Regions from separate parts of the Homo sapiens genome. Here region 1 is linked to region 2. Evidence: promoter capture Hi-C in 16 types of primary human blood cells and fetal thymus (Javierre and others, 2016). All regions are on one chromosome and are shown on one strand. The core of a region is centred on a gene start or on the middle of the fragment in contact, and the rest is flanking DNA. Distances in the headings are between cores, read along the strand shown. Region 1 overlaps LOC105369455 (a long non-coding RNA gene). Region 2 holds the start of CNTN5 (contactin 5).

Region 1 (6,547 bases), core at 1,741-4,240, 570 kb after region 2:
AGCCCATATGTGATCCAATTCTTTTGGTACACCAAGGCAAGAACCCAGGGATACAGAAAGCCCACTGTCCTTTAGGCAGGGGTCTAACTGAACTGATTAACACAAGACACATGCCCGCTGCGGTTTCAGCTGTAAACATACCCCTAGACGCTGCCTTGGGGTCAGAGCCCTATAGCCTGCCCATCTGTATGCTCCCCTAGAGGTTTGAGCAGCAGGGCACTGAAGAAGCAAGTCACACCCCCATCACACACTCTGCTAGGGGAAAAAGGGAACTTTTCCTATTTCACAAGGTAACCCTAGCCATACAAATCCAGTTATATATAGCTAAATTCAACAGATTGAGCATTTGAAAGAGAAATCATCTACATTCATGGTTGTATATTTTTAACTTACCTCTTTGAGTAGATGATAGAACAAGAGAAAGTAATTCATTAAGAATGAAGTAGATTTAGAAAACAAATTAACAAATTTGAACTAATTGACTTTTTAGTATATGTATCTGTGTTTCTATAAAATGATATAATGTCCCACTAAACAAGTCAAGATTATATATTTTTCCAAGTGAACGGACAACTATTACCAAAAGTGACTATAAATCTGCTTATGAAATGTCTTGAAAATGTAAAATAATTGAAATTTCACAGAGTAGTATCTCTGAGTACAATAGAATTAAACTAGAAAATACCAACAAAATAAAACTCTCATATGATCCCAAATTTGCTAATTAGGTTACACATTCCTAAATAACTCACATGTCAAAGAAGAAATCTTGGGGAAAATAGTTGAACCAAAATAAAACTGAAAATATATCAAAACTTTGTGAGGTAAAAATTGAGTTCGGGAATGGTAGTGTAAATAAAATAAAGCCATTCTCCTTTGCTGATTACAACTAAAACCTCTAGGGAAGAAAGGAAAGGAAAGGCTGGGCTCGATGGCTCACGCCTGTAATGTTACACTTTGGGAAGCCAGGAGGTGGAGGCTGCAGTGAGCAGAGATCGCGCCACTGTATTCCAGCCTGGGTGACAGAGCAAGAGACTCTGGAAAGAAAGACAGAGAGAGAGAGAGGAGGAGGCAGGAGGAGGAGGAAAGGAAGGAAGGAAGGAAATGAGGATTCTAAAAAGTACACAAAAATGGAAGATTGTGGACATGAATCAACACTTGAGTTGGTAACATAAAAATATCAGAAATATTAGATATCTGGGAAAAGTTTTTCAGAGAAATATATCAAGAAAAACATTGAAAATATTAAGTAGAAGTGGAAAAGATTCAAGATTAAATAGTTATGATTGCAAAAGCAAAAACTTAAATCACTATTTAAAACAAAAATTATAACACAGGCATGTAGAGTTTAGATGTATGCAAATACAATTCATCTGACAGTGATAAAATGAAAGATGATAAGGAAAGATTTAAATGGAAGTTTTCTACATTTTATGACAAGTGATACAATATTAATATTTAGAAGACTGTGAAAAGATTAGGTATTATATTGTGTTTCTTAGGGAGAGCATTAAAGCTGTATACAAAAAGTAGAGGTAAAACGATGAGACACTGGAATGGCTAAACTCCAGAATACTGACAATAACAATTGCTGACGAGCATGTGGAGCAACAGAAACTCCCAGTCATTGCTGGTTGGAATGCAAAACTAAAAAAAAAAAAAGACAGTTTGGCAGTTTCATATAGAACAAAACATACTCTAACCATATTATCCAGTATTCATGTTCCTTGATATTTACTCAAAGGAGTTGAGTTCATATGTCCATATAAAACCCATACACAGATACTAATAGCTCCTTTTTCATAATTGCTAAAACTTGCAACCAAGATGTCCTTCCATAGGTGAAGGAATAAATAAAATGTGCTACATCCAGACAACAAAATATTATTCAGTGCTAAAAAAATGCGCTGTTATGACAAGAAAAGACAGGGTAGAAACTTAAATGCATATTACTAAGTAAAAGAGGACAATTTAAAAACCCTACATACTGTTCCAACTCTACAACATTCTGGAAAAGGCAAGAGCAACATATTGCCTTCTGCTTTGAGGCCTGAGTACATAATATTGTTTCTCCCTGAGACACTCTGTCTTACTGTTCACCTAGCTAATTCCTACATTTGATTCTCATCAAAATTTAAATATTATCACTCAGAGGAATCTCCCCAAATCCCCAGTGCAAATTAAGCAATATTTTTATCCTTGTACTTATCACAATTTTTGTTATACATGCATTTGTATAAATATTTATATATGTCTAAGAATACATCATCAAACAGATATACTTTTAAGTACCTGTAAATAACAATCTTAATTCATTATTTTTACATAAGCATGATATTTCCATTAGTACCTAATAAATTGCACCAACAAAATTTAGCACTTTAACTCTTAAATTCTAATTTGTAAAGAGCTGTGGCCCATCGTACTTGGGCCAAAAATATGTTCTTTAAGGTAAAATTTTATCCTTGTTATTTAGTCTTAATTATTTCACTGTGAATCCTTTAACGTATTAGTAAAACAATTGTATGGAACTGCAGAAATCTTCCAAGTTTATTTACACCTAAAATTATTCGACTGCTATTTTGGAAGCTTTTAATTTATTCATTTGAAAAGGAAATGAAAGATGAGGGGAGACATCTGAAAAACTCACATATAATTGATTCATTATTGTTTTCTCTTATATGCTCATTTATTTTTTCCCAGTTTTATCTTTTTTAGTCAATTGATTATCCAAACATTTTAGATAAAATAGTGCTAAATGTAAGAGAATATCCACAATATAAATTTTTCAACACTTTTGTTTCCTAACCACTCATCTACACCAACATATGTGCACGGATGCATGCCATGGTTAATTGTATGTGTCATCCTGACTGGGCTAATGGATGCCCAGATAGCTGGTAAAACATTATTTTGGGGTGTGTCAATGAGGATGTTACTGGATGAGATCAGCACTTGAGTGGATTGAGTGAAGAAAGTCACTCGAAGTATGCATCTTCCAATTCCTTGAGGGCCTGAATAGAACAAAAGGTGGAGAAAGGGCAAGTTTGCTTCCTGTTTGTGCTTGAGAAATCCATCTTCTTTTGCCCACCCTTGCACATTGCTGCTCCTGGTTCTCATATGTTCAGACTGACTGAATCACGCCACTGGCTTTCCTCTGTCTTCAGATTATATATCTATCTATATCTATATCCACATCTATAGCTATATCTATCTGTCATCTATTTATCTATCTATCATCTATCATCTGTCTATATATAGGTTCTGTTTCTCTGGAAAATGTTGGCTAATTCAGTACATATATCACATATGCCCTTCAGTATACATATGCAAGCACACATATATATGCATGCACAGACTCACACGCACACACACATAGAGCCAAGCTTTTCATTCACAGCATTAAGAAACATTTTGAATAAAAAATTCTTAAGAAATTCAATTTAAGTATTTGCCAGAGGAATTTTTTTTCAAATGTCAAAATATTGCAAAATAATAGACCTTAAGGATATGGGAAAATCAGAACAAAGCCTGTTATATTTGCTCTTGTAATTCTACCTAGGAGAATCTAATAAACTCTGCAATGAGAGCATATGTTATAAGCTAAAGCTAATATCTGACACCATAGAGATGCAAACAATGAAACACTTCCTACATTTCAATGAAGAGAACTGTTCTGTCATCCGTTTTATACAAAATTACTAACTGGCAGAAATTATGTACTTATGAGGGATGCCAATACACTGGCAAAATACAGTGAGTATTTTCATCTCAAAACTCCCAAATTTTTTTTTTACAGCTTGGTCTTGCCTTGTTTTAATAGGATTCATTTTATCCTTGGTGATACAATGCTGTTTCAGCAAGAAGTGATCACTTATCAGGCAAATTAAATTCCTACTCAATTTCCTTAACAATAACTCAAAAGCATGGATATCAGCACTTTGGGATTCAAGGAGAATTTATTACAAGTGAGACAAAAGTTTTATCTGTATATGTAACACATTTTGATGAATACTAAAATATTTGTAAATGATTACAGGGTTCATTTCAGCTGTAATATACCAAAGTATATTAGGAGTAAACAAATGTCTCTCATTTCAATTATCAGTTACATATTGAATATTTTTCTACCAAGAGAAAAGCAAGTTCTACAAATTATTTTAATTTTTATTTTCTCTGTTGATGATTACTGGAGCAAACAAGCACAGACAAATGTAGTGGGTTGCTTATTTCTTTACATGACTATTTAAAATAATTGAGTCAATTATTAGGCATAAAAAAAGTACAAGAAAATTGTTTTATGATAGCTACTAGAGCTAACAATTCACTGAAACAGATAATTGAACACCAGTAATATACTAGGTCTTACCTTGGATCCAGATTTAGGTGCATTACCATAGAGGATGCAAGTGAAAGATTGTGCCCTCAAAAGATAATGTTCCTTAGGATGTCAGCTATAAGAAATGAAAATAAAACTCTCTTGATTCGGAGTTGGTAAGGTCTATCAAGCTATCAACCATCCATATATCTAAAGTTAACCATAATACAAATGTCTTTCCTAGGTCCTTTAGAGTTAATACTGCTTTAAAGGAAATTTGAAAATTTACTGAAATCAGATTTTTTTTCTTGCTTTTATTCCCCTGGTTCAGTATAGTACAGCTTAGACAAAATAGAAAGATTCATATATTTGGGCTTATTCAGATTTCAACCTAAAATTAAATTATTTTAAATTGTTAAATGTACTTTATGCAGTGCATTTGCAGGAATCCTCAATGCCCAGGTTCTTTAAAAGTTTTATTCTGTTAAAGTTATAGGAATATTCCTAGTTCCAACATAATACCTTGCTTTTTGTTTTTAAAATCCTTGTTAAAATGTTAGTCTTACTTGGATTGTATAACCAAGCCATAATAGCATGATTTAATTTTACTTATAAAGAGAGCTGGGTTCCCAACTAAGCCCTAAGGAAACATAACACAGGATGTGCCGGGTAGGGACAGTAGTCTTGGTTCAAATACCAATCTATCTCTTTTACACCACGTTTTCAAAAATTTTCATGAATCAGTGTTTCTTCATTTGTTATTTCTTTTAATGACCATTTCTAGAGACGTGTGTGTGTGCGTGCGTATGTGTGTGTATTTTCACCAGTTCGATTGTAGAGTGAGTCAGCAGAGGTCCTCACATTGTCATGCTAGAATCCTCCAAGTTCTTTATCAGAAGTAGTTTTTCCAACAAATAAGGTTTTTTTTACTATGTATAGAAGGTAAAGTTTGCCACCATCAAGAGTTATACTCTCTTGTCTAGGAGTTTACTGGTTTATATGTTCATAAATTCAAACAGCCTTTTGTTTCAGTCTCATGTCACTTTTAAGACATGCTTCACTATTATGCTGAAAAGCCATATACTAGTAATGTATCCTGTTCATTCATATTTTTTTTAGAAACCAAATGAAATACTCTTTTTTAGTCTTTTTTAGGTTGTTCTCAAGCTTTATTTTTTTCCAGGCTATTTATCACCAACCATCATTTCCTTACCAGGATGTATGGAAGTAGATATAACTAACTTTGTTTAGAAAATTTTGTAGTAATAACTGTGGAAAATAATAGTAAACTTTGTTCAAGAACCAACAATGAGAAATATTTAGCACATGTAAATAAGTGAGTACTTTAACAGGCATTTTCCTCTATAGTGAGAATGCTGGAGTGTTAACATGACACTTGCTCCACAAATGCAATAAAGAATTATTGGTTTTTGAGTCTGCATTGAGCACTTCAGACACTTCAGGCTGTTTGTAAAAAATTAAAAACAAAGGGGAAGTGTTGACTAATATAAATCCAAGCAGATTTAACCCAAATAAGATTACTTCAAGACGTGTAATTATCAAACATTGCTCAGTTGCTGGATCTGTAATATAATTAAGTGAGAACAACTTCAACGGAATGCAATTCTAACCAGTTTGAAACTCAAATAATCCTTGGTGGTTTCATCTAATTCAGCTACTTACTTATCAGAAGGACTTTTTTTTACCATGAGATATTTAAGTAATATTTACATCGACTATTGAACATTTTCCTCCGTAGTTCATCAAAAGAGGAGATGGCTCAGCTTGATTACTTTTTTTAATTTTTAAATTTTTTTATTTTTTATTATTATACTTTAAGTTTTAGGGTACATGCGCACAACGTGCAGGTTTGTTACATATGTATACATGTGCAATGTTGGTGTGCTGCACCCATTAACTCATCATTTAACATTAGGTATATCTTCTAACGCTATCCCTCCCCCCTCCCCCCACCCCACAACAGGCCCCGGTGTGTGATGTTCCCCTTCCTGTGTCCATGTGTTCTCATTGTTCAATTCCCACCTATGAGTGAGAACATGCAGTGTTTGGTTTTTTGTCCTTGCGATAGTTTGCTGAGAATGATGGTTTCCAGCTTCATCCATGTCCCTACAAAGGACATGAACTCATCCTTTTTTATGGCTGCATAGTATTCAATGGTGTATATGTGCCACATTTTCTTAATCCAGTCTATGATTGTTGGACACTTGG
Region 2 (6,792 bases), core at 961-3,460:
TTCAGACCACCTAATACTTGAAGTACTAACTGCTCACCTTGAGAAACATTCAGGTATTTCAGCTATTCATTTAAAAATTCCACAACTGTAGCTTTTTGGATGTATTTCCAAAAGCACCTTGGTGTGCATGTGCCTCACAACTTATAGACAAAGTCCGGCATTTAGTTAATCTATGGGATTATATTTTTATATAACTTTTAAGAATCTAACTTTCTGTTCAGTTGTCTATGGAATCAGAAAGAAATTAAAATTAGCAGTTTTTCTCCTCCTTTCTCAATTTTCAGAAGTTTTAAATAATTTAAAGGATACACCAATTCCTAAGCAAAAACACTGGCACTTGTAATAATCATTTCACTGACTTTCTATTTTCAGATAGGCTTTAATATCATTCCCTCACACTCCAGCTATTTGTCAAATTCTATTCTTTATATTGAATTTCCCTTTTTATAACTTTAACTCTGATTTTTTTTGCCTTTTTCCCTTTAATGGACTTAGATGATCTTTTTATGTAATATCTTTAATTTGTTATCATTAGTTTTATATGACATATTCTTACTCATACCTCTTTTCGATTAGAGTCAGAGTAAACTTATGCCTGTTAAGTTTAAGACTCAGCATACTAGTCCCCACTTAACTTAGAATAATTTGAGCATGAAATAGGAGAATATGCAAGCAACCATGAGAATTGCTCAAAATTGACTACAGGCATTTTCAAAAACAGTTAATGACCTAATCATTATTTTTTAAAATACTGAGAGTCACAATATTAATCATAATGAACTCCTTTAAGCTCCCTGTAATGGTCATAAGTACTTCTGTAATTCTGTTGCAATTCAACAGTAATCGATGATATCTGCATTAATTTTTAAATTTGACTATTTGTCTATAATTTTAAATGCTAGTATTCTAATGAACATCTACTTCTTTCATCCTTATTTCCACAGTCGTAATTGAGAATCAAAGTAGAAGTATTGACCCTCTAAATGATTTTCTCTTTTAAATTAAGAAACAAATGAATGAAATGTAGGTAAGGCATTGAACATACAACAGTTTAAAAGTTTTTTGCTTCTCACCTGCATTTAAATTACCACATGAAATTGTATTTTTCTTGGGAGAACAGTTCTAAGATTTAAAAGTAATATAATTCTAAAATATTTAGTGGATTCTGGTTCTTTCGCAAATAAATATAGTTGAAACAACTTATTGTTCAGGTCATCAGAGTAATTCTCAGGTTTGTGTATGTGCAAATTGATATTCTCTTCCGTATATCTCCCTACAAAACATGGTAAGGATGTCTGAACATAATTTTTTAATCTATCACAATCCTATACAACCTTTAGAAAAAAGCTCAGCATAATCCAAGATACAGTTTTTCTCAGTCTCACGAACTTTGTAGAACTCCACTTATAGAGCATCCCTACTGAATTTTAACAAGTTATTGCAATGCCAGATGCCCAATTATTTAGTCTCGGAAACTCATTGCTCAAACATAAGGCATACATTCAGTACCTGAGAACGGCATCCTATTTTCCAAACATTTAGTTTCTTTTGTAGAAACATCCTCACTTTATCCTGGCATTTATTGCCTTACAATTTGCAATTTGCGTGTAGGAATTGCTTACTCTTATTTTGGGTGGCATTAGGAGATATACAAATAGGTTATATTTACTCTTGTTTCAACTTTTTGCCATAAAATCCCAGCAGGAAATAAAGTCGTGTTTTGTTTCCTTTATTTAAAAAAGCTTCATCTTACAGTTTTTACATTCTGGCAACATGGCAAGAAAGGATGGCTTTGCAGAACAGAGTGTGTCAAAAATCCTAAGTGGCTGGGAGATGAAGTGCACAATCACAGAACGCAGTCACTGGCAAAGGAATGTCAGCCACTTACCAATAAGATGCCAGACTCCACTGTCCTTCCTCTGTGACTCTCAATTCCTGTCTCCCATCCTCCTGCCCATCAGCACAGTTCAGAGAGAGCGGTTCCTCGGGTCCTTTGCAGCCTGTGGCAGAGGCGAATTGCGGAGTTCTTAATCATTCAGAGGGAATCCTCCAGCTTGCCCTGCCTCTCGCAGCAGACGGGACCCAGGTAACGCATCCTCTCCGCCCCGAGCTTTAATGGCACTTTGGCTGCCGCCTTCTCGCAGTTCCGCTCCCCCACGCCGTAGTTGGTTATATTGGGAAGTAGGTGCGGCGCCTCCTGCGGCTGGTGTGTTTGGGGCTCGCGTGTTTTCCTCCAATGCGTCCGCGCGCCCTGCGCCCCGCGCCTCTGACTGGCTGTGTCCTCCCGGGGCGGCCCCTCGCCCCTCCCCGGCCGCCCGCGCTGTCACCGGCGCCCGCGTCCAGCGCCTCACTGCCTCTTGCTGCAAAGGTTCATTGAGCATGTCCCTGGGCTTAACGAACTGTGCGCCTCCCGGAGGGTGCTCTGTGTTTCTCCACTCGTCTCACTAGTCAACCGGCATTTTCCTTCCCTGCTAAGTACAGAGGACCTGCCCCCCTTCCCCGAGCGTTTCTGCTCTGCAACCCCTCCGTATTTAACATTCATAGATTACAAAGCAAACGTGCTGGCTGGAGTCGGCACGGGAGATCCAGGCGAGAGTCCCTTCCTCCGCTCCTGTCTTCACTCTGATTCCTGTAGTCCCCGGCTCACACCTCTGACAGCAGCAGCACAGACTGACGCGTTCACTTAGGTCGGTTTGAGAGTGGACTTTTTCACTTTGCAGAATTTTCTTAAGTCCTGAATGGGAAGCACTTCTCTTTTGTTTCTGCACTTACGCGTTTCATCTAAGGACTATCAGGCTCTGCCTGTTTATATTTCTCTTTGATTTGGGGTGTTGACTCAGTTCTAAAAAAAAGCGAAGGAATGGTCTCAGCAACCTTTTTTTCGGAATTTTTATATTACAATGGCTGTAATTGGAAAAATAACACAGGTAGTAAATCCACAGTGTGGCAGCTTTAGTGCCATTGTTCTGCCAGTCCTCCTCTCTACTTTTTTTTTTTTTTTCCTCTCAGTCTTTGAGTCGTTTTCCAATTCCCACGATTGGGCTGATGGTAATTGGGTATTTGTTAAATAAATTATATAACATTTCCTTTGCAATATATTTCCATAGAGAATGTGGTTTGCACCTGTATTTAATGGAAAGGAAATCCCACGTACTGCTTTCTATCTCTGTGTCTGTATAAGAAACTGCATGGGAGTCTAGGGTCGCACCCCGTGTCCGCTGGTGTCCGTTTTTCATGTGTGTTTGAGAGCAGCCTGACCCTGGACTGACGCTGATTCTTCTGCTCACTGAATCCCCCGATGGGGTCTGACTGGCTCTAATTGGCAAGGAGAGTACAGTGCCAGGCAGCCTGTAGCTGGAAGCCGTCTACCACTAGCCCTGTGTTCTTTCTCTTGCAGTTTTTCTGGTAATTAAAATTAGTCTTTTCCTGTTTCTTGGCTGCTTCTCATTCATCCAATGATGTACAAACACCCAGTCTCTGCTTTTAATCGCTATCCTCAGGATCTAGGCTGATTGCTTGTTCTGTAGCAAAGACAAATTTGTGTGCATTTAATACTTCTCCACTCTTCCATACTTTTTATATTCGTGTTCCTGCTTTCCAGTAACTAGGTTATCTTCTTTATGTGTTAACTGAGGGATCGTTGTGGAGATTCCCCTTCTGTGGCTTTTTCTCTGCCCCACTGGCTCTTCTCCTCTGTCAGGCTGTCGGTTCACAGAGAGAACTACCAGGACTTTTATAACCACATTAAATACATCACAAAATAAATTCAAAGTGTAGGAGCTCTAACGCATTCTTTTTATTGTTCGATGAGGTTTTTGCCTTTAAAAGTGTATAATTGAGCACATGCAGCCTGAAAGAGGGATCGGGAGTGTAGAAAGCTTTCTGAAAGTTCTCTTCCCTTCTTAGAACACCATTCTATATTACCCATGATCCGATAATTTGGGCATTTTGAGTCATTATGTCACATAATTTCTTTCAACTAGCTTTGCCCTAGAAAGGATGTAAGTTGGCTTATAAAAATCTATTCAGTTTAAAAAAATGAATAAAAAATGTAGGTCAGTGAGATCAAGACAAACGGTAAAGTGATAGGAGGAGAGATAAGATGAAGCCAGAAATGAGGTTTATAGAGAAAACTGCATTGATGTTTTTGTTACAAATGGTGCTAGGTCTGCCATTAACTTTGTTAGCAGCCAATGTAAAGAAGGAAATGCTATCGGTCACATGATTCATGGTGCCCTCCTACCATTAACATGAACAAGAAAATTTACCTTTTACATGATGTAAATGGACTAAATATTTCTCCTTTCTTAAGCAAGAACTAAATAAAAGCTTTTAATGTTTCTACTTTTTATAAAGAGAGCAATATTATCACAAGACTATGGTGTGAATATATTTTTGAAACAAGTAGATAATGTAATAGCACTTTTCCTTGCGAAGTTATCTGATGCTTTAGAGGGAGAGAAAGGAAACGTTGAATCTGTTTAATTAAAAATAGTAAGGTCTATTTCTGTCAGTTCAAATTTAAAATGTTGACTTCAATCATTATTTGGGGGTGACTAGGTTACCTGGCTACACTTCATTCAGGACCCAGAAAGAGTGACTATATTTATTCTCATGTCTTTTATGACTTTTAATGTTCTAATTTGTAATAATATACAATTATATATTCCCTATTAATATCTATATATGTAACAGACAAACTGTTAGTCTATCTGACTCATCTTTCTTTAGAATTTTGCTGTTATGGAGTTAACTTATGTACTGTATATTTTTACAATTTTCTGCTTGGAGAGTAAGGGCTCTATAGATCAGGTACACTTCTGTATCCTTTTATATCCACAGTGTTCAGGTTTAAGCAGGTCAATGTCTGGAATTAGAGAAACAACAGTGCTTAAAATAAGAAACAAACAAACAAAACTCCTTGTTAGAGTTCCACTAAAAAGAAACAAACTACCTTGTGTTTTCCAAGTAAACATCAAATCTTTTCACATACCATGACCAAGATTTTCTACTATTGACATGTGAGAATGGGATTTTAAGTTATAGTTGTTTTGATGTAAGATTTGTCTTTAAAAGATATAAAAGTATGTATGCCCCATTATTAAATTCCAATGCTGTTTTCTTAATAAAATGGCATTATTAAAAGATCACTGGTTTTCTCTGTTTGATGCTAATGACATTTTTGAATTAACCAGCTCATCCTGTACCCTGGTAAAATATCATTTGTACATTAAGTTAATTAAAACATTGTTTGTAAGTGGGGTAAGTGGTTCAGTAGGTCACTTTCTCTATGCTATGGTTATGACACCTCAACCTAGCTGTCATGTTGCTGATCTGATCTTGTTGTCTAGCCATCTTTGTGTAAATGTCTTAATCTCTTTATCTCATCGTCCCCAATGGGCAAGCAAGCAGATGCAGCACATCTGTAGCAGTTGAGGTGCCTCTGAGCTTTTGTCTTATTTGTGTAACAGATTTTTATTGAAATCATGCCCTCCTTTCTCTTTCCCTTCATTTGACTCAGATAAGTTCTAGGTTCTAGTTAACAGATCATAACTATTATTATGTTCCATCAAATCATAGCATAACTGTAGGGAAGCAGACCAATGGTGAATTCATGTCTAGATCAGTCATCTTTCTTGGATCATCTGCCTTGCCTACTGGAGCTTCTTTTAGCATTTGCATTTTCTGTTTTGATGTTTTAATCCTCTATGTTAATGTGTTACCAATAATGGTGAATGGGTAAGTACTAAGATAAAAATTAAAGGAATCAAAATCTTGCATTTTCAATATATGCCAGTATTCCCTATAAGTGCAAAGTAACACATGAAGAAGCAAAAGTAAACTTTTACTTGAACTGGACAAAATATGATTTTAATTATATTTTGAGTTTCTTAGAAGATGTGTCTCAGTACTCATATCACAGCTGTTTTGTGAAAGCAGAAGTAAACATATCTTAATCAGACTTGGAAAATATACCAACTTAATTAATTTAACAGCTGCTTCAGTAAACAACGCTAAAGAACATAGTCTACTTTGTGGATGTCTTGATAACATCGGCAACCAAAACCATTAAGAAGTATGAGAGAGGAGCTCTAATTCAACTGTGGTGGTCAAGCTTTTGGTGGTCACAGTACCAACTCTTACTTACAGAAGCTGCAAATATCTAATCTCCTGTAGGTGGAATTTATGCTCACCCTTTGTGACATTTTGGTCCAACTATTTATGCAAACCATAAACATTTGCAGTTAATTAAGATTTTAGAAAATAGAAGTAAAAGTTGAAATCTTACTAATTTAAAGGTAAAGTTTACTTAGTTTTCATCCAGTAGATTCCTTTAGATATGCATTTCTATTTTTTTTTCTTGGATATATTTTAAGTCTCAGGATCTCTATCAGTTTTAATTCACTTACCTTTACAGATGTCTAATTTTTCTTTTATGTAGCATTCTCTCACCAAGACCTCTGGATATAAAGTTGTTTCCATAAAGAAACAAAACCAAAGATTCATTTGCTCATGACCAGGTAAATACCTCTGTATTGTCACTGTTTACATACCATTCTTCTCAGTATGGGATAAAAATGTCTAATGGTTTCTTAGAATTAGTCTAATTTGTTCTTTATGGTTTTAAAGAATGGCCATATGTGTGTTGCATCTTGATCATTTCCCATCTCTTCCCTGTCTCCCAAGTCTGTCAGGTACATTAACTTGACCTGTCTTTGATATTTGGCCCTCCATCAAAATAATCATCCTTCAAAAATATTGCTATCAAATATGATTCTCACCTTTATATAT

Evidence for each region. The method cuts DNA at HindIII sites, captures the fragments that hold promoters and counts their contacts. A CHiCAGO score of 5 or more calls a contact.
Region 1: a contact is called between a fragment that was not itself captured here and the fragment with the promoter of CNTN5 in region 2, in 1 of 17 cell types (megakaryocytes). The highest score is 5.6, in megakaryocytes.

The regions. Positions count from the first base shown.
Region 1 is chr11:98,446,822-98,453,368 of GRCh38, reverse strand. It overlaps LOC105369455 (a long non-coding RNA gene), which reads left to right. Exons shown (of 3, transcript XR_947946.3): 3 at 1-6. Among named protein-coding and RNA genes, the nearest start is that of LINC02713, 490 kb to the right of the region's middle. RefSeq lists an enhancer at 1-292. The HindIII fragment of the contact is 797 bases long and covers 2,592-3,388 here.
Region 2 is chr11:99,016,367-99,023,158 of GRCh38, reverse strand. CNTN5 (contactin 5) reads right to left here and starts at 2,210. Exons shown (of 25, transcript NM_014361.4): 1 at 1,889-2,210. The HindIII fragment of the contact is 2,136 bases long and covers 1,745-3,880 here.